Linked DNA regions of Homo sapiens: regions 1, 2, 3, 4, 5 and 6 are each linked to region 7. Evidence: promoter capture Hi-C in 16 types of primary human blood cells and fetal thymus (Javierre and others, 2016). All regions are on one chromosome and are shown on one strand. The core of a region is centred on a gene start or on the middle of the fragment in contact, and the rest is flanking DNA. Distances in the headings are between cores, read along the strand shown. Region 1 overlaps LOC105371777 (a long non-coding RNA gene). Region 2 overlaps LOC107985072 (a long non-coding RNA gene). Region 3 overlaps LOC105371777 (a long non-coding RNA gene). Region 4 overlaps LOC105371776 (a long non-coding RNA gene). Region 5 overlaps KRT23 (keratin 23). Region 6 holds the start of KRT25 (keratin 25). Region 7 holds the start of KRT15 (keratin 15).

Region 1 (2,700 bases), core at 145-2,644, 650 kb after region 7:
AGTGATACAAAATCAAAACATGGCCAGTGACCTCCTCAGACACTCTGTTCTCATCCACATGCATCAGGATCAGCCTCAGGTACCTGATTAGACCCCCAAGTAACAATTCCAACTTAAAGCATTAGTAGTGATTTTTATTTTTGAATTCTCTTTCAAACATCTCTGTTTTCTCTCCCCTAGGCTCATTTCCAAGATTCCTCTCATCAGGGTATTATTTTATCATCTTCCTGTCTCCTACCACTTTCAAAATTCTCCCCTGCTTTCAAGAACCATTGATCTCTGGAGCCCAGAAGTCAATCTCACTCATACCCCTTAGGGTCCTTGTTTAACCCTCATCTCAAAAGCACAATACATAAAATGTAGGCAACCCAAAATTCTCTCAGTCACTCACAGGATTTTATAATGTTATCCAAAGTGAAAGATGTTACAGATCAAGGGATCAGCGAGTTGCAGAAAATGACAGGTCTGTCTTACGGGAAAAAACTCAGGTAGAAAACCCTGCAAAGACCAGGACAGAAACCAACCTGACATGAAAAGATGAGGGTATGATTTACTCAATAAAAATCTAAAGACTTGTAAAAACCACATAACTAATTTTCTCTATTTTGAACATTTCCTAAACTCTACAAAAATGGAAGATATAATTCTTTTGAACAGTTTGCCCTGGCTATAATCATTTTCCTCTCTGCCTCAACTTATGCAATCACTCTGCCAACAAGCCCAAGATTGTTTATTGTTTTTTACATCACCACTGCCTTATACATTAATGTGGCTGTCAAAGAAAATTATTTTCACTTCTAAAACCTCTAAAGCAGAGTCTTGATTATTTAACTTAGCCTCCCACTTAAAAAAAAAAAAGCCACTGAAGAAGAAATATTTCCCTTTTCAACTTCTGAAGTTGCTCCCCATTCATAACTGAATTCAGAATAAATATTGGTCAAAGCATACCAGTAAATTAGGGCACAGTCATTTTCAAATGAAATGAATTTCAAATGACACATTCAAACACATTAAGACTTAACTTCTTTCAAATGAAATCATTCAAGGAGTGCAGTGATAAAGTTCAGCGAAACACTAGGCTAGGACTCAGGATAAAAAATAAATTAGATGTAGTACCTACCTAACAAGCTTAGTCTAGGATAATATGTTATATGTATAGAAACATAAACAAATAATATATAAACATAATTTTTAGAGATTGAGCAATATTATTTAAATTTTACCATAGGCATTAGAGTTGGAAAGTGTACCTTTCAGCACAAAATCAATTCCAAGTTCAAAAATTCAACTTAATCATATTCCCGTATTATGTGATCAAATCACTGAGGTACAATTTTGAACTTGGCACATTTCTTTTGACATTTTATTTGCTTCTGTTTTCATTTCTATGGCAGTAAAATGGAATCTCTCTGTCTTGGGGGACACTTGGGAGTGAATAATAGTTAACAACCATAACATCAAGTTCTTGTGTGGGGAGTGCAAGTTTAACTTGTGCTTTATAAGATCTCTGGAGATGTAGTTACAGGTCAAAGCTAAAATGAAAACCGCATTTGCCTGTGTGTTTACAGAATTTCATGTGTCATGTTGTTGCTTATAAGCCATGAAAAGTCATTCTCTAGGTCTCAGCCCATACACTGAGAAATTCAAGGAGAAAGCTTAAAAGAAAAGAAAAAAAAAAGAGCACCTCCTGTTAGATGTGCAGGGCAGAAGCCTAGTGTCAGGTGTCATAGCTAGGGGATGTCAGAGTATCCTCTGCCCTTTTTATTGTCACCGCCAGCAGCAAGGTTGTGGTATCTATAGAAGGCACTGCAGGCCCGAATCCTATCTCTGCCTCCTCCCAGCTGCATGGGCGTAAATAAATCACTTAACATCTGGACTCTCAGATTGCTCATCTGTAAAATAGGATAAAAGTACCACCTGAAGCTGGGCGCCTTGAGGTGGCTCATGCCCGTAATCCCAGTGCTTTGGGAGGCCAAGGCAGAAGGATCACTTGAGGCCTAAAGTTCAAGACCAGCTTACGCGATATAACAAGACTCCATCTCTACAAAAAAATTAAAAAAAAAAAAATAGCCAGTGTTGTGGTGCCCACCTGTAGTCCTAGCTACTTGGGAGGCTGAGGCAGGAGGATTGCTTAAGCTCAGGAGTTCAAGGTTTCAGAGAGCTATGATCACACCACTGCACTCCAGCCGGAGTGAGGGCAACCAAGCAAGACCTTGTTTCAAACAAACAAACAAATAAAACCAGTACCACTTTAAGAGCTTGCCGTGAAGGTTAAAAAATAATGTCTGTAATTCAGCTGGCCCAGTGTCCAAAAAGTAGTAAGTACATAATAACTGATAATTCAAACAAGACCAGCTCAGTCAAAATGCTTATAATATAGATTTAAGGAATCCTTGGTAAAAACCTCCATATGGGGCTAAAATCACTGGCATTTCCACTGACCAGATTTTCATTCTCTCAAGAAATTAAACAAATGGATCATGGCTTCTCTCAAGCTGAGACTGCCTTAGGTTGCTACATTCTTTCCACATCTATAGCAAATGTGTGATTTCTGCAAATCTCTTGCTTAAACCCCCTTTATTTAGAAATCCCACTTGCTTGCTCTTTGTGACGAGTTTAGGTTGGGGAGAAATATGTCCCTTCACATTTGTCCCTTATGTAATAATATAAAAGGAAGTTGTAATTGGATTTCACCACGGG
Region 2 (2,700 bases), core at 113-2,612, 570 kb after region 7:
TAATCTCAACACTTTGGGAAGCTGAGCCAAGCAGATCTTTCAAGGTCAGGAGTTTGAGACCAGCCTGGCCAACATGGTGAAACCCCATCTCTACAAAAAATACAAAAAATAGCAGGGCATGGTGGTGGGCGCCTGTAATCCCAGCTGCTCGGGAGGCTTGAACCTGGGGGGTGGAGACTGCAGTGAGCTGAGATGGCGCCAGTGCACTCCAGCCTGGGCAACAGATCAAGACTCTGTCTCAAGAAAAAGAAAAAAAAGAAAGAAAGAAAAACGAAGAAGAAGCAGCAATATTTGAGTGAACCAAACAAATACATGATTGAGTTTCAGGCAGCAACAACTATCAAGTGGGGAAGAATGCTGGGAGCAAGGACCTTCCAACAGCCTTGCATACCCTTGCCCTGCCGCAACATGAACCACACTGAGCTAAAGGTAAAACCTATAAGGACAAGACTTCAGCAAATTGCATGAGATGATGTTTCAGCTACCAACACCACAGCTAACTCAAAACATCTCCTCCTAAGGCAAAAGAAAGTAACGCCCAGCGAGGACTAAAGCTAACACGCAGGTTAATTCCAGGATCACTAACAACAACGGTCTTTGTGTAAAGGATTTATTTGATTACCTATCATGTCCATCAGATTAAGATAATCATAAGGAGAAAAAGAAGAGTGAAGTCGTTTCAGCTTTGCAACAGCACTTCCCACCCATTTGCAGGGATCTGTTTTTCCTGCTGTTGTGTTAAGGGAATGAAATCACTGCACAGGCCTTTTGCACAGAGGCAGTGCAAAAGGATTTAAGGATCTTTCTAAAACCAGGCTTAAGTCAGAGTGTTCTGGCAGTCCTTTGAAAGAAGTTATCTAGCTGAAACATCACTTGCCTCCTCAGAAAGGTTTGGTGTCAGCTGGAAAAGGAAGGAAGCTGGAAGGAGGGAGGAGGTGCCCTCCTTCTCTGAAGGTGATAATGATAAATGAGGATCAACTACCAGTATGATGGGCTAGGCCAACCCATTCTTCTCAGGCTTATACCAAGGTACTGAATGATAAGTATGTCACTCAGATGATGATGACTTCATCGCAGCTATGTGAAAAGATCTTGACAACCAGGTTTTCTCTACTGGTGATGGTGCTAAATTGCTTTGTCTCCTGAGCACTGGCAACTCTGAATTCTAGGTATAAATGGGTAAAGATCAGTAACTGCTCCTAAGCACCCCAGAGCAGACCCTCACATAATAGGTTGTGTCATTTGACAGAATACTGAAAGGCCAAACAAAATAAAACTAAACTGTTGGATCTAGAGGCTGAAGGATCTTTAAAGGTAGGAGTGGGAGGGAGTGAGGGATAAAAGACTGCACATTGAGTACAGTGTACACTGCTCTGGTGATGGGTGCACCAAAATCTCAGAAATCACCACTAAAGAACCTATCATATGAAAAAAGGCTCAACATCACTGATAATTAGGTAAATGCAAATCAAAACCACAAGATACCAACTCACACCAGTCAGAATGGTGATTATTAAAAAGTCAAGAAACAACAGATACTGGTGAGGTTGTGGAGAAATGGGAATGCTTTTACATTGTTGGTGGGAATGTAAATTAGTTCAACCATTGTGGTAGACAGTGTGGCAATTCCTCAAAGATTTAGAACTGGAAAGACCATCTGACCCAGCAATCCTGCTACTGGATATCACCCCAACAGACCTGGTGGCCTGCCAAAAAAATATTAAATCATTCTATTATAAAGATATATGCACATGTATGTTCATTGCAGCTACTACTCACAATAGCAGAGACATGGAATCAACCCAAATGCCCATCAATAATACACTGGATAAAGAAAATGTGGTACATACACATCATGGAATACCATACAGCCATAAAAAGGAACAACATCATGTCCTTTGCAGGGACATGGATGAAGCTGGAAGCCATTATCTTCAGCAAACTAACACAGGAACAGAAAATCAAACACCACATGTTATCACTTATAAGTGGGAGCAGAACCATGAGAACATCTGGACACAGAGAGGGGAACAACACACACAGAGGCCTTTCAGGGGAGGGCGGGTGGGGAGAGCAGTAGGGAAAAGACCTATTGCATGCTGGGCTTAATACCTAAGTGATGGGTTGATAGGTGCAGCAAACCACCTGGCACATGTTTACCTATGTAACAAACCTGCATATGTAACCCAGAACTTAAAATATAATAATTTAAAAAAATAGATTGCATCATCTGCAAACAAAAAAATTCATTAATGTAATTGAAAACCACCTGTTTCCCAAAAACTATTAAAATAAAAATTTAAAATAGTTTTTAAGTAGGAATTGTGTCATATTAGTCTATTTATAAAACCAGAGTACCCCTAAAGGAAATCTTCAATAAAATTAATAACTAAGTTAGAAGATTTTAAGTCATATGATTTGTGGCTGTGGAATTCAACCAATAATGAAATTGGAGATGAAATGCACAGTTTGGGGGTATGAGATAAAAAGCAATAAAAACATTTTAAATATAGCCAACCACTTTAAATGAGCAGGTGCTTGAATCAATATCCCACAACTGCAAAAATTTTAGTGAACCTAAAGTATTGTCTCTATGGCAAAGTAAAAAAGGAAGAAAGAAGAAGAGGAAGAGGAAGAGGAGGAGGAAGAGGAGGAAGGAGAAGGAGGAGAAGAAGAAGAAGAAGAGAAGGAAGAAGGAAG
Region 3 (2,700 bases), core at 170-2,669, 630 kb after region 7:
TTTTTCATTATAATTATGGTATATTTTAATGAATAAAAATTGCTAAATCAGTATCAATTTTGTACTTCACAGTTTTCACTTTTTGTGTCTTGTTTAAAAATACTCCTTTACTCTAATTCCTAGAGATATTATTCTGTGTTTTCTTCTAAATGTTGTATAGTTTTTAACTTTTCACATTTTTATCTTTAATGAATCTGGAATTCATTTTCTTATATTTTAGGTAAATTTTGCCTTAGACAGAAATACAACTGCCATTTGTTAAATATGGGATACTCCATTTCTTTCCTCATTGATTTGAAATGCCCAAGCCGTACAAAATTAGTTTCTATAGGCAACAGATCTGTTTCTGAGCTCTTTGTGCTAATTCACTGGCTTATTTCCAGATCATTGTAAGAGCCATCATGTGAAAGGCAAAACCATAAAATTAGAAAACATAATATGCATTCTTTTTTTTCTTCAACTTTTATTTTAAGTTCAGGGGTAAATGTGCAGGATGTGCAGTTTTGTTACATAGGTAAACATGTGCCACGGTGGTTTACTGCACAGATCATCCCAACACCCAGGTATTAAGCCTAGCGTCCATTAGCTATTCTTCCTGATGCTTTCCCCCCAACCACAGGTGCCAGTGTGTGTTGTTCTCCGCCATGTGTCCCTGTGTGGAAAATATAATATGCATTCTTAACCTGTCAATATCTAAAGTTAATCTGTATGTTTGCTGTTTTCCTAAACAGTCCCGCAATTTAGAACAATTTAACTCCATTCATCCCCTTCCAGCCCTCATCTACTTTAATTCCATATTGTTTTTTCTTCTCAATAGATATATTATTTTATAGCCAATACTTGTCTTTACATTTACATTTGGTCGCATGCTTAGCACTCTATTTGTTCATTATTTTAATTCTTTTATGCATCTCAGAACTTTCATCTGGAATCATCTTCCTTCTGCTTAAAACACATTCTTTCAGATTGCTCTTAGTGAAAACTTAGAAGTTGATGGCAAATTCAGTTTTTTAAATGTTGAAAATGGCTTTATTTTACCCTTCTTCAAATATAATGTTACCGAGTCAGAAAATTCCGGAATGGCAGTTATTTCCTCCCAGCACATTGAAGATTCTATTCCATTTCCAGTGTCCATTGTTGCTTTTGAGGAGTCAGTCATCAGTCTAACCACCATTCCTTTGTTGGTGATTTATTCTCTATCTGCTTGTAATTATCTGGTTTTCTGCCTCAATGTGTGTAGTGATTTATTTTTATTCCTTTTGCCTGGAATTCATTAGGTCTCCTTAATCTGAGAACTTGGGTTTTTTTTAAAGAATTCTATAAAATTCTCACTTTTTATTTTGTTGAATGTTTTCTTATTCTCTTGTGTCTTCTTCTGGAACTCTGATTAGACATATTTAGACCTTCTAATTATAGCCTTCATGCCTTCTTGACTTCCTCCTTCGTCACTTAGCTGCATTCTGGAAATTTTCCTCAGAGCTACATTTTGTTCAATAATCCTGGCTTAATCTGTTCCTGGATCCATCCACTGAACTTGTAATTTTAACGGCATTATTTATTTCCTCTGGTTTGTATTTCAGATCTGCTTGGTACTTGCTCCAATTTTAAGTTTGTTTTATTTTCTAAAACAATTTATATTTATATTCTTCATCCAATCATTCTATAGCCACTATGAGACAATAAATAAATCCATCCAACTCATCAAAACACAGCTGAGAATTACCAAATAAGTACAAACAAAAACCTAAATATGACTGATTAACTGTGCAGAATACAATGATGTAAGTTTACTATACATCAACCTCCTTGTACCCATCTCCTCGCTTCAACAAATAACTCAGGGCAAAACTTCCTTCATCCATACTTCCACCCTCCTTCTCCCTGTCTGAACAAGATGCCACTCCAGAGACTGCAGGTTCTATGTCTATCATATGTGATTGCAATAGCTTGGTCATGGTAGAATACAAAAAAAAAGAAAAAAGTTGAAAGCCCTCTGAAAACTGTAGTGCTTATAATAGCCTTCCCAACTACTGGCCATACTTAATATTAATCATTAACACTCTCAGTAGAGTGTCTCAGAAGTCAAAATGTATCTCCTACTAGCTACAAGGAAGTTGGGATCTAATAAGTATTTATTTACAGCTGCAGTCACCCAACAGCCTGAAATACCAGGGTCTCTAAATTCATGACTTTGTGTATGAACAAGGGTCAATAGGATCTTTACTCAGTCCTCGAGATATAACTCAGAAAAATGAATTGCTGTGAAAAACTCACTTGATTTCCTGTGGTCACATTATAAGATCGAATAATCTACAAAAGTACAAAACTCAGTGATATAGAGAAGCCAGCAAATTCTCCTGCCCTTATATAAACAGGTGGGAGGCTTTCCAGTAGAATTTTTTCTACTCCAACAAATTGGTAGATTGAATGACTATACCTCATAATGATGACACTATTGTATCATATTTTAGTTTAAATTTAAAACCTCAAAAACTTACCAAAACTAGCCAAAGATTTCTGGAATAAGATATAGACAAAGTTATTTCTCAAAAAAAAGAAAAAAATTGGCTGGGCCGGGTGCAGTGGCTCACGCCTGTAATGCCAGCACTTTGGGAGGCTGAGGCAGGCAGATCACAAGGTCAAGGGATCAAGATCAGGCTGGCCAACGTGGTGAAACCCCATCTCTACTAAAAATACAAA
Region 4 (2,700 bases), core at 107-2,606, 710 kb after region 7:
ACACTGTCTTCCACAATGGTTGAACTAATTTACACTCCCACCAACAGTGTAAAAGCGTTCCTATTTCTCCACATCCTCTCCAGCATTTGTTGTTTCCTGACTTTTTAATGACCGCCATTCTAACTGGTGTGAGATGGTATCTCATTGTGGTTTTGATTTGCATTTCTCTGATGACCAGTGATGTTGAGCATTTTTTCATATGTCTGTTGGCTGCATAAACGTCTTCTTTTGAGAAGTCTGTTCATTTCCTTTGTCCACTTTTTGATGGGGTTGTTTTTTTCTTGTAAATTTGTTTAAGTTCTTTGTAGATTCTGGATATTAGCCCTTTGTCAGATGGGTAGATTGCAAAAATTTTCTCCCTTTCTGTAGGTTGCCTGTTCACCATGATGATAGTTTCTTTTGCTGTGCAGAAGCTCTTTAGTTTAATTAGATCCCATTTGTCAATTTTGGCTTTTGTTGCCATTGCTTTTGGTTTTTCAGTCATGAAGTCTTTGCCCATGCCTGTGTCCTGAATGGTATTGCCTAGGTTTTCCACTTTTTCTTTTTTTCACAGCACTGTTTCCAACTTACTATACAATGTATTCATTATTAGTCATCCTTTTCCCCTGCTAGACGGTACACTCCAGAAAGACAACGCTTGATCTTCGTCTACTTTATCCATTCATGTATCCTGAGGCACTAGAACAGTGACTAACACAGGTTAGGTACCAAAAATATCGTTTTTGAAGGAATGAACTCTATGACATATATACTATTATTATCTCCATTTTACAGATGAAGAAACTGAAGCACAATTTAATTCATCACTGGAACTAAGAGTGTAGGAAATGATTATATATAAATGGACATTAGTGTATGATAAAGGAAGAATCTAAACCCTAAGAAAGTAAGGTTTATTCAGTAAATGATAAACTATTAAACCCATAACAAACATACTAGAAATAATCCAAATGAGTGTCTTAAACATCCATATAAGTAGTAAAAAAAAAGCAGAAAAAAATGTGTAATCACATTTTTTAAATTTTGAAATAATTATAGACTCGTTGGAAATTGCAAAAATAGTAGAGTCCAGTGTACTCCTGACTCACCTTCCCCAAATAGAGACATCTTCTATAGGCTAGGGTATAATATCTAAAATTTAAAAATTGGCATTGGTACATCACTGTTTAACTACAGAGCTTACTCAGTTTTTGTTTTTCCTAACCTGCATGTGTATTCACAAAATACAAATCTTATAAAGGACTGGCATATAGAATATAAATATAAAAAACTATAACTCAATAACAAGAAAAAACCACAAACCAAAAAAAAATTGTGTGTCTGTGCAATTGTACCCCATGTATAGGTACAATTTTTGTACCACCACCCAAATCAAGATACAGAACCATTTCATAACCACAAAAGAACTCCTTCATGCTACCTTTTTGTATTCACATGTGTACCTCAACACTCCCTTCCCAGTTCCTGGCCCCTGGCAACTACTAATCTCCATCTCTATAGTTTTACCATTTAGAGAATGCTATATAAGTGTAATCACACAGTATGTAACCTTTTGAGACTGAACATTTGTGTACACGTTTTGGTGTGAACATACATTTTCATTTCTCTGGGTTATATGTCCAAGCATATAATTGCTAGGTCATATGGTAGGTGCATGTTCAGTTTTGTAAGAAACCGCCAAACTGTTGTCCAGAGAAGCTGTACCATTTTATATTGCCACCAGCAATAAATGGGAGAGCAAATTTTTCTGCATCCTCATCAGTATTTGGCATTATCAGTATTTTTCTAATAGGTATGTACTTATAGCTCACTGAAGTTTAATTTGCATTTCCCTAATGGAAAATATGCTGAATAGCTTTTCTTTTTATTTTCTTTTTTTTCTCTCTCTTTTTTCTTGTTTTGAGACAGAGACTTTCTCTGGCGCCCAGGCTGGAGTGCAGTGGAGCAATCTCAGCTCACCGCAACCTCTGCCTCCCAAGTTCAAGTGATTTTCCTACCTCAGCCTCCTGAGTAGCTGGGATTACAGGCATGCGCCACCATGCCCAGCTAATTTTTGTATTTTTAGTAGAGATGAGGTCTCACCATGTCAGCCAGGCTGGTCTCAAACTCCTGACCTCAGGTGATCCACCCACTTCAGCCTCCCAAAGTGTTGGGATTACAGGCGTGAGCCACTGTGTCTGGCCTGAACAGCTTTTCATGTGGCTATTTGCCATCCGTATCTCCTCTTTGGTGAAACATCTGCTCATGTATTTTGATCATTATATAGCCCATTTGTATTTCATTGTGTTCTTTTCACTTAGGATTACTTTGGCTATTCATGATCTTCATCGGTCCCATATGAATGTTAGAATAGTTTCTTCTAGTTCTGTGAAAAATTACATTGGTGATTTGATAGGAATAGCATTGAACCTGTAGTTCGTTTTGGGCAGTATGGTCATTTTAACAATATTGACCCAATATCATTATTCACCCAATCCATGAGCATATGATGTTTTTCCATTTGTTTGTGTCATCTATTGAAAGTCACCGTCAAAATAATTTTAAAAAGCCAAAGACTGGGAGAAAATAGTCACAAAAATACAAATCTTATAAAGGACTGGCATATAGAATATAAATATAAAAAACTACAACTCAATAACAAGAAAAAAACCACAAACCAATTAAAAAATGGACAAAAGATTTGAACTGATACTTTATCAA
Region 5 (2,700 bases), core at 108-2,607, 590 kb after region 7:
CCAGGAGGCAGCCAGTCCAGCCACTGTGCAGAGCAGACAAGGTGACATCCACGAACTGAAGCGCACATTCCAGGCCCTGGAGATTGACCTGCAGACACAGTACAGCACGGTGAGTCAAGGCTAGGAAAACCGTGAATCCCACACCACCTCCTTCACGAAGCCTTCTGAGACCTCTCTCCCAGGCCCTGACCCTCAACTCCCTTGGGACAACTCTCACTTTCCACTTTCCATCCAAATTGTTTATGATGAGAACCATAATAAAGGGCTACCATGTATTGAGTGTCCCGATGGTGCCAGGCATTGTGCTAAGTAGTTCATGATATTAAATGTCATTAATCCTTACAGTAACCTTCCCAGATAGGTCTTAGTGTCCCCATTTTAGAGATGAGGAAACCAAAACTCCAACAGTAAAATAAATTGGCCAAGGTCACACAGCTAGTAAGTAACTGGTGATGAAACCATATGATTTATTTGGAGGAAGGGGGATTCTAGACCCCCATAATTTCTATCAGTGCCCTCTCCACTTACAACCAGGCTACCCCCCTCAAACCCCAATGTAGAGAAATTCCAGTGCCAACATGGTAGGTGGCAGATCCAGGCCTGGCTAACTCCAAAGCACTGCCCTATTCATTTATGTATATGTCTTATCACCCAGAAAACTCTAAGTTCTTGTGTCCAAGTCATTTCTATCATCTTCACAGTTTAGAAAAATGCTTAGCATGGTCATAAGCATTCAAAATTTATGAAGGTCTATCATTTGATTCCCAGTATACCCTATTGAGTCTTCTAATCATTCATCCATATAATTGCCAAGTGCGATTCTACCCTCAGTCTTGAGAGGCAATGATTTGTTCATTTATGTTGCAGGTGCACTTGGGTAAATGACTGCTGTGTTTTATGCATCCGTGATGGTGAACAGACACTGCAAATGTGCACGTAGAGATCATGAGTACAAAAATAATTATAGTGCAACTTTCAAAACGTTTTAACATACAGTATTTCACAATGGCCCTGTGAAACAGGCGAGGCATGTATACCCATTTTCATGCATTCTACTATCTGACACCAATCCTTAGCACTGAGGATTTTTTAATGAAGGAGTTTATATTCTAGTAGGAGTGACAGATAATAAATGTGCAAATCATCAAAATATATGTTAGATGGAGAAAATTGCTACAGAGATGAAGCAGAGGAGGAGGGCAGATGCACCAGGGTGAAGAGCTGCTATCTTAAACAAGGTGGTCAGGAAAGGTTTTCCTGTTAGAGTGGCAGTGAGCAAAGAGGTAAGGAGGTGCTTGATGTGGTGATGGGATGTGTTCCAAGAGGAGGGAACAGCAAGTGCAAAAGCGACAAGGCACAAGTGTGTCTGATGAGTTGGAGGAGCAGCAGGGAAGTCCATGTGGCTACAGTGAGTGAATGAAGGGAAGAAGAAAGGAGAGAAGAGGAGGGGAAGGGAGGGGAAGAGGGAGGAAGACAGGGTGAGGCCGCGGAGTCCCAACAGAACCAGACAGTGTAGGGCTTTGTAGGCTACCTTGGAGGGGTCTCAAGAGGAACAGCAGGCATAGACAACTCTTTGAGGAGCTTTGCTGTAGCTGAAGGAGAGCAGAGAAATTGGATGATAGCTGAAGGTAGATATGGGTTTAAGAAAGATATATTTTAAGGTAGGAAAAATTATTCTATTTGAAAGCTGGTGGGAATAATCCAGAGAGAATATTGATAACGCAAGAAGGCGGGCAACTGCCGAGATGACTGGAGCACAGACAGCTCACACAAAAGAACAGAGGGAAGCCAGCACCCAGATGCAGATTCAAGTATGTGCCTGGGAGCAATGTAGGGAGCAGTGGGCGGTCTCTCCCGATTGCTTTCATTTCATCAACAAAATTAGGAAGCGAGGCCATGGACTCCGAGGAAGGATGGCAAGGACAGAGGAGAGGGAACAAAATAACCTCCTGGGAGAGTAGGAGACTGGCTGACCAGGGAAATGTGCTTTAACCGCCAGGCAGCATGAACGGCCCCCTGAAAATTAGCAGCCACGATAAAGGGAGAGTATCCAGCACAGTTAGGAGATTCTCTTTAAGGTTAAAATTATGCGCTTCAGAAAAGCAGGTGTTACATGCAAACAGAACTGGGACTTGAACTCAATCCTCCATATTCTAGCCCAGAAACTTCATTTGGCAGCTGTTAGAATTTCCTCAAAAAATGACATTTTTTTTTTTTACCATCGTCATAATCAAAAAGCATTGCTTGAGACTAGGGTTGCCAGATTTACCAAATTAAAATATAGAATACTCAGTTTAGTTGGAATTTCAAATAAAAAGCAATTTTTTTTGCATGTCCCATGCAATACTGGAGCAATATTTTGGACATAGTTACACTAAAAAATTACTCATTACTCATCTGAAATTCAAATTTAACTAGATGTTCTCTATTTTATCTGGCATCCCTAATTGAGACCCTTCTCCGAAGATACAAAGAGATAGCAGTCCCAGTTGCTGTCGCTCTTTGGGAGTTTTCAATCAGGTCAAAGATAAAATGAAAGGAGTTAAACAACAGTTCAGAGCAAGGCAATGGACTTCAAAAGTCCTAACACTGCTCAACTCCTGACTGCCCAAGTCCCAAACCTGTAAGTCAGCCTACTTCTCATCTTGGTGTCCTCAGCAGCTACCAAGACACCTAGCCAACTGGTCGACATCTGCTAAG
Region 6 (2,700 bases), core at 38-2,537, 760 kb after region 7:
AGTTAATAACAATAAGAAAGTAGATTTTAAATGTTCTTACCACAAAATAGGTATGTGAGGTAATAGATATGTTAATTAGCTTGATTTGGTCATTACACAATATATTCATATATCAAAAAATCATGTCGTGCACCATAAATATATACAATTTTTATTTCTCATTTTTTTTTTTTTGAGGCAGAGTCTCATTCTGTCACTCTGGCTGGAGTGCAGTGACACAATCTTAGCTCACTGTAACCTCTGCCTCCCAGGTTCAATTGATTCTCTTGCCTCAGCCTCCCGAGTAGCTGGGATTACAGGCACCTCGCCATGATGCCTGGCTAATTTTTGTATTTTTAGTAGAGATGGGGTTTCACCATGTTGGTGAGGCTGGTCTCAAATGCCTGACCTCAAGTGATCCACCTGCCTCAGCCTCCCAAAGTGCTAGGATTACAGGCGTAAGCCACTGTGCCTGGCCTTATTTGTCAATTTTTTATATTTCCATAATAGGTAGAGTTTTCAGTAAATATATGTGAATTCCCACCGACTAAATACCTTACTGATGACTTTCATCTGAGCTAAACCACAATAAATTAAGACAGAAAAAATAGTTCCTACCAGGTTTGCTTCAGATTTTGCAGGGTCAGGAAATAAGTTAATGTCTTTCCAAACTCCCACAAAACATAACACCAATTAGGGGTGTGCTCCTAATTACCAAAATGGATAAGGTAAGACAACTCTCCTCAGTCATAAGTGTCAACAGAATATGATGCTCATGTCAGCCAGAATGGAAGTTAACTTCCCATGGGAAAGAGTGGCAAGAGGAATTTAAAAATAAAAACAAAAACCTATTGGTTGAAGAACCAGGTTGGGGAAATGATTACAGTTCTATTCTCTACTTATGTGGAAAAACTTGTGAAAATAAAAGCAGAAAAAGCCTCAGAAACATCACAATCTGCCTTGGCATAATAGCCCAAAACCATGATGCTAAATTTCTATCCTGTAATGAGCTGATGAGGTTTACTTCCAAGGATGGAAGTGAAGAATGACTCACTCAGCATTTAAAAACGTAATAATGAACCTGACATTGCTCCACCCAGACCCATTTCTCAGATAACCACCAACCTGAGGGCAACTGCCCTCCTACAGGAATGAGCCCAGCAAAGTGAGTTACTAATTAGAAAAAATCACCCAATTATGCCAACTTGCTGAGACTGGCAAGCCATGTTTTACTCTGTGTAGGCAGAATTTCATTCAGAACACACTTGGGACTTGCCTATAAAAAGGCAAACCAAACCTTTTAGACAAGAAGGCACTCCATTCTGGCTTTCACAAATACAGCTCTGCAACGCGTTTGCCCTGATACCATGTCTCTTCGACTTTCCAGTGCATCCAGGAGGTCCTGTCCTCGTCCCACCACTGGATCACTCAGACTCTATGGTGGGGGAACCAGCTTTGGTACTGGAAATTCTTGTGGCATTTCAGGGATTGGAAGTGGCTTCTCTAGTGCCTTCGGAGGCAGCTCATCGGGAGGAAACACAGGGGGAGGTAATCCCTGTGCTGGCTTCACTGTGAATGAGCGGGGGCTCCTTTCTGGCAATGAGAAGGTGACCATGCAGAACCTCAATGACCGCCTGGCATCCTACCTGGACAGTGTGCATGCTCTGGAGGAGGCCAACGCTGACCTGGAGCAGAAGATCAAGGGCTGGTATGAGAAATTTGGGCCTGGCTCTTGCCGTGGTCTTGATCATGACTATAGCAGATATTTCCCAATAATTGATGACCTTAAAAATCAGGTAAGAAATCATACTGCACAATCATTTTCATGTACCTTTATTTCTAAATTTTGTTTTCCTTTCTTTATTAAATTCTAAAAACATTTATCATTCCTACTTGTGATTTTTTTTTTTTTTTTTTTTTGAGAAGGAGTTTTGCTCTTGTTGCCCAGGCTGGAGTGCAACCGTGGGATCTTGGCTCACTGCAACCTCCACCTCCTGGGTTCAAGAGATTCTCCTGCCTCAGCCTCCCAAGTAGCTGGGATTACAGGTGCCTGCCACCATGCCCTCCTACTTGTGATTTCTTAAAGAGAATTCCAATTTAGCATTAGAAATAAGCATTAAGTAGATTCAGTTGGTTTACTTCATGATAAAAGTCAAATTCCCATTTCTAGATCATCGCATCCACCACCAGCAATGCTAATGCTGTTCTGCAGATCGATAATGCCAGGCTTACAGCTGATGATTTCAGACTCAAGTAAGTAGACTGCCAGAGTGAAATGAATTCATGGCAATTCATGCAACGCATTACATCAAATTTAGCAACTCTTATTCCAAAATTATAAAACACTTGAATTTCACATAAACAGGATGTTATTACTTTTTTATGCTTTGACTATTAAATACAAAGCATGAACTGCTATTAAAACTAGCGCCCAATACCCTAGTTCTTTTTCTGTCAAATACTGCAAAGTAGAAACAATAATTATTATACAACAAGCTTTGAAAATGCCTCTTGTGGCCAAATCTTCAAAATTCCAGAATGCTAGCATTTGTCATTGATCAGTGACTAGTGACTATGTCTCCAACCATGTGACAAATTAGGAAATCATTAACACTCTTTAAGGTATGAAAATGAGCTGGCTCTTCACCAGAGTGTAGAGGCTGATGTCAATGGGTTACGAAGAGTTTTGGATGAAATAACCCTGTGCAGAACAGATCTGGA
Region 7 (2,700 bases), core at 201-2,700:
GGGCCACAGGGCTTCCCTGGAAGTGAGAGTTGAGAGCGCCCCTTGCCACAGGGAAACAGAGACTTAAAAAGGTAAATGTCCACAGTCTTACCATGGTAATTGGTAGGGTCAGGATTTGAACCCAGGCCTCACAGTCTTACCATGATAATTGATAAAGCCAGGATTCAAACCCGGGCCTGAGGGACTCCAGAGCCCTGTCCACTTCACCATGCTGCAACCTGGGCTAGGAATCCTCCTCCTGAGTTTCTGTAAGCCCTGGGGCCAGGTCCAGAGGGCTGAGCCACACCTCCAAGTGGCACTGCCCACAGGTATCAGGTGTCCCTGGAAAGGTGTCCCTGAGCTGGTGGCAGAGAAAAGGGCTCTCCTGAGTGTTCAACTCCCCGTCTGTGTGAAGCAATGCCTTGGTCTTCAAGATCTCCGGTGTCTTCCAGCCTGCCTGCCAGTCTCCCTTCTCTTCCCTTCCACAGCATTCAGGCACATAGAGCCTTCTGCAGCGGCCCGTCCCCAGCCAGCACTTGACAGGACAGATGGGGGCTAATCTGGCCCTGCTAAGCAGCGACATGCCTCTCCTGGAGAAGGCAGGGGCTTCCTGGAACTTGCCCCAGCCTTATCAGCGGAGGTTTGCCCCAACACATCCCAGAAACGAGCAAAGGTTCAGCGCCGTGCAGTTGGCAGGTGTCGGGATCATCAGTCATCCCCTTGTCAGTCCCAAGCCTGCTGGGCTTTTGTGAGGGTGCCAGGAACACAGGCTGGAGGATGGCAGGAGGGGAGTAGAGGTGGGAGGAGGGGAGTCCATCTGCAGCACCAGGTAAGGGGATGGATGCTGGCTCCTCTGGTCACCTCAGCTGGAACACTACTCAAGGTCCCTGGCTCCTGTCCTCCACCTGCCCCCAGGGGCCCTGCATTCCCATCCCCAGGGCCTCCACTCTCCCTGAGCCCTGCAGTCTCTCACTCACTCACTCACTCACTCATTCACTCACTCACTCACTCACAGGGTTTTGAGTTGGATAACACAGCATAATGATCGGCCAGTGGACTCCCAAACTAAGAACACGGAGCTGTCCTCTTGGGGAGAGGCTCAGGGCTCGGGGAAGTGAAGTCCAGCTGAGGGCACAGTTGGCCTGAGCTGCTCTCAGTACAGGCAGAGGCCTTGGTAGCTGTGCTGTGATGAGAGTTCGCTCCCTGCTGCTCTCTTCTGGCATGGAGAGATGAACCTGTAATCCAAGTGTTAAAACCGTGCCCTGGGGAAAAACACTATTAATTCTGAATCATCTCTTTTGTTGCATTAAAAAAAAATAGAAGAGAAAAACTTCACATGACCCACTCAAGGTGTGCAGGCAGCTGTGTTTGTCAGGAAGGCAGAAGGAGTTGGCTTTGCTTTAGGGGAGGAGACGAGGTCCCACAACACCCTCTGAAGGGTATATAAGGAGCCCCAGCGTGCAGCCTGGCCTGGTACCTCCTGCCAGCATCTCTTGGGTTTGCTGAGAACTCACGGGCTCCAGCTACCTGGCCATGACCACCACATTTCTGCAAACTTCTTCCTCCACCTTTGGGGGTGGCTCAACCCGAGGGGGTTCCCTCCTGGCTGGGGGAGGTGGCTTTGGTGGGGGGAGTCTCTCTGGGGGAGGTGGAAGCCGAAGTATCTCAGCTTCTTCTGCTAGGTTTGTCTCTTCAGGGTCAGGAGGAGGATATGGGGGTGGCATGAGGGTCTGTGGCTTTGGTGGAGGGGCTGGTAGTGTTTTCGGTGGAGGCTTTGGAGGGGGCGTTGGTGGGGGTTTTGGTGGTGGCTTTGGTGGTGGCGATGGTGGTCTCCTCTCTGGCAATGAGAAAATTACCATGCAGAACCTCAATGACCGCCTGGCCTCCTACCTGGACAAGGTACGTGCCCTGGAGGAGGCCAATGCTGACCTGGAGGTGAAGATCCATGACTGGTACCAGAAGCAGACCCCAACCAGCCCAGAATGCGACTACAGCCAATACTTCAAGACCATTGAAGAGCTCCGGGACAAGGTGAGTCCTCGGATGTCAAAGAGAGGGGAGCAGGTGGCTGGTACCCTGTACACAGCTCTAATGTCAGTGTTACTGCTGACTCAAGGAAATCCTTTCCTGCCCAGGCAATGACTGTCTGGTATGTAATCTCAGCAAATTTGGAATGCACCTGCTGTCCAGGTGCAGAGGCCAGTGCACATCTTCTCAACTTGGTGGTGCTGGGGGAGGGAGAGAGGGGTCTTGGGAATCTGGTTAGGACCAACAGGGGCACAGGTGGGGGCAATTATAAAGAGCCAGAGGCAGTAGCTCACACCTGTAATCCCAGTGCTTTGGGGGGCCAAGGTGATAGGATTGCTCGTGTCCAGGATTTAGAGGCTGCAGTGAGCTATGACTGTGCCACTGCACTCCGGCCTAGGTGACAGAGTGGAACCTGTATCTAATTAAATAAAAATAATTAAAAAAAAAGAGCAACTCGCCCTCCCTACCTCATGCACCCTGCAGGCTTCTGCATAAAGTATTCCTTTACCTCTTTTGCAAGAATGGGATTGGAGTGTGGCCTCATGAGTTCCAGATGCTAGAACCTCTTGTCTTTTCCTATAAAGAGGTCTTTTGTGCCAAAAGTACTGTTGGGTCTTAGGAGACCTGGGAACTCATTACACATTCTGCCACCCACTCACTCACCATTTTACTCCCTAAGACTGGGTTCCTCAT

The links. Contacts are between HindIII fragments. The CHiCAGO score rates a contact against its expected background, and 5 or more counts as called.
Region 1: a contact is called between a fragment that was not itself captured here and the fragment with the promoter of KRT15 in region 7, in 15 of 17 cell types (M1 macrophages, M2 macrophages, naive CD8 T cells and 12 more). The highest score is 14.8, in M1 macrophages.
Region 2: a contact is called between a fragment that was not itself captured here and the fragment with the promoter of KRT15 in region 7, in 5 of 17 cell types (naive CD8 T cells, activated CD4 T cells, naive B cells and 2 more). The highest score is 7.2, in naive CD8 T cells.
Region 3: a contact is called between a fragment that was not itself captured here and the fragment with the promoter of KRT15 in region 7, in 9 of 17 cell types (naive CD8 T cells, M2 macrophages, total B cells and 6 more). The highest score is 9.3, in naive CD8 T cells.
Region 4: a fragment that was not itself captured here is called in contact with the fragment with the promoter of KRT15 in region 7 in 5 of 17 cell types (erythroblasts, monocytes, M2 macrophages and 2 more); the score reaches 8.5 in erythroblasts.
Region 5: a fragment that was not itself captured here is called in contact with the fragment with the promoter of KRT15 in region 7 in 9 of 17 cell types (non-activated CD4 T cells, activated CD4 T cells, total CD8 T cells and 6 more); the score reaches 11.3 in non-activated CD4 T cells.
Region 6: a contact is called between the fragment with the promoter of KRT25 here and the fragment with the promoter of KRT15 in region 7, in 3 of 17 cell types (M1 macrophages, total CD8 T cells and M0 macrophages). The highest score is 9.0, in M1 macrophages.

The regions. Positions count from the first base shown.
Region 1 is chr17:40,870,669-40,873,368 of GRCh38, reverse strand. All of the region lies in intron 1 of LOC105371777 (a long non-coding RNA gene), which reads right to left. Among named protein-coding and RNA genes, the nearest start is that of KRT12, 4.8 kb to the right of the region's middle. The HindIII fragment of the contact is 527 bases long and covers 1,131-1,657 here.
Region 2 is chr17:40,942,824-40,945,523 of GRCh38, reverse strand. The region is part of intron 1 of LOC107985072 (a long non-coding RNA gene); the gene reads right to left. Among named protein-coding and RNA genes, the nearest start is that of KRT23, 6.5 kb to the right of the region's middle. The HindIII fragment of the contact is 5,430 bases long and covers 1-2,700 here.
Region 3 is chr17:40,887,883-40,890,582 of GRCh38, reverse strand. The region is part of intron 1 of LOC105371777 (a long non-coding RNA gene); the gene reads right to left. Among named protein-coding and RNA genes, the nearest start is that of KRT20, 4.0 kb to the right of the region's middle. The HindIII fragment of the contact is 6,046 bases long and covers 1-2,700 here.
Region 4 is chr17:40,811,926-40,814,625 of GRCh38, reverse strand. It overlaps LOC105371776 (a long non-coding RNA gene), which reads right to left. Exons shown (of 4, transcript XR_934753.2): 4 at 498-678. Among named protein-coding and RNA genes, the nearest start is that of KRT10-AS1, 5.9 kb to the left of the region's middle. The HindIII fragment of the contact is 4,415 bases long and covers 1-2,700 here.
Region 5 is chr17:40,925,647-40,928,346 of GRCh38, reverse strand. KRT23 (keratin 23) reads left to right here. Exons shown (of 9, transcript NM_015515.5): 6 at 1-109. Among named protein-coding and RNA genes, the nearest start is that of KRT23, 11 kb to the left of the region's middle. The HindIII fragment of the contact is 4,468 bases long and covers 1-2,700 here.
Region 6 is chr17:40,753,918-40,756,617 of GRCh38, reverse strand. It overlaps KRT25 (keratin 25), which reads left to right and starts at 1,287. Exons shown (of 8, transcript NM_181534.4): 1 at 1,287-1,775; 2 at 2,150-2,232; 3 at 2,602-2,700. The coding sequence starts at 1,347. The HindIII fragment of the contact is 3,727 bases long and covers 1-2,477 here.
Region 7 is chr17:41,517,640-41,520,339 of GRCh38, reverse strand. KRT15 (keratin 15) reads left to right here and starts at 1,450. Exons shown (of 8, transcript NM_002275.4): 1 at 1,450-2,010. The coding sequence starts at 1,513. RefSeq lists an enhancer at 111-1,110. The HindIII fragment of the contact is 23,808 bases long and covers 1-2,700 here.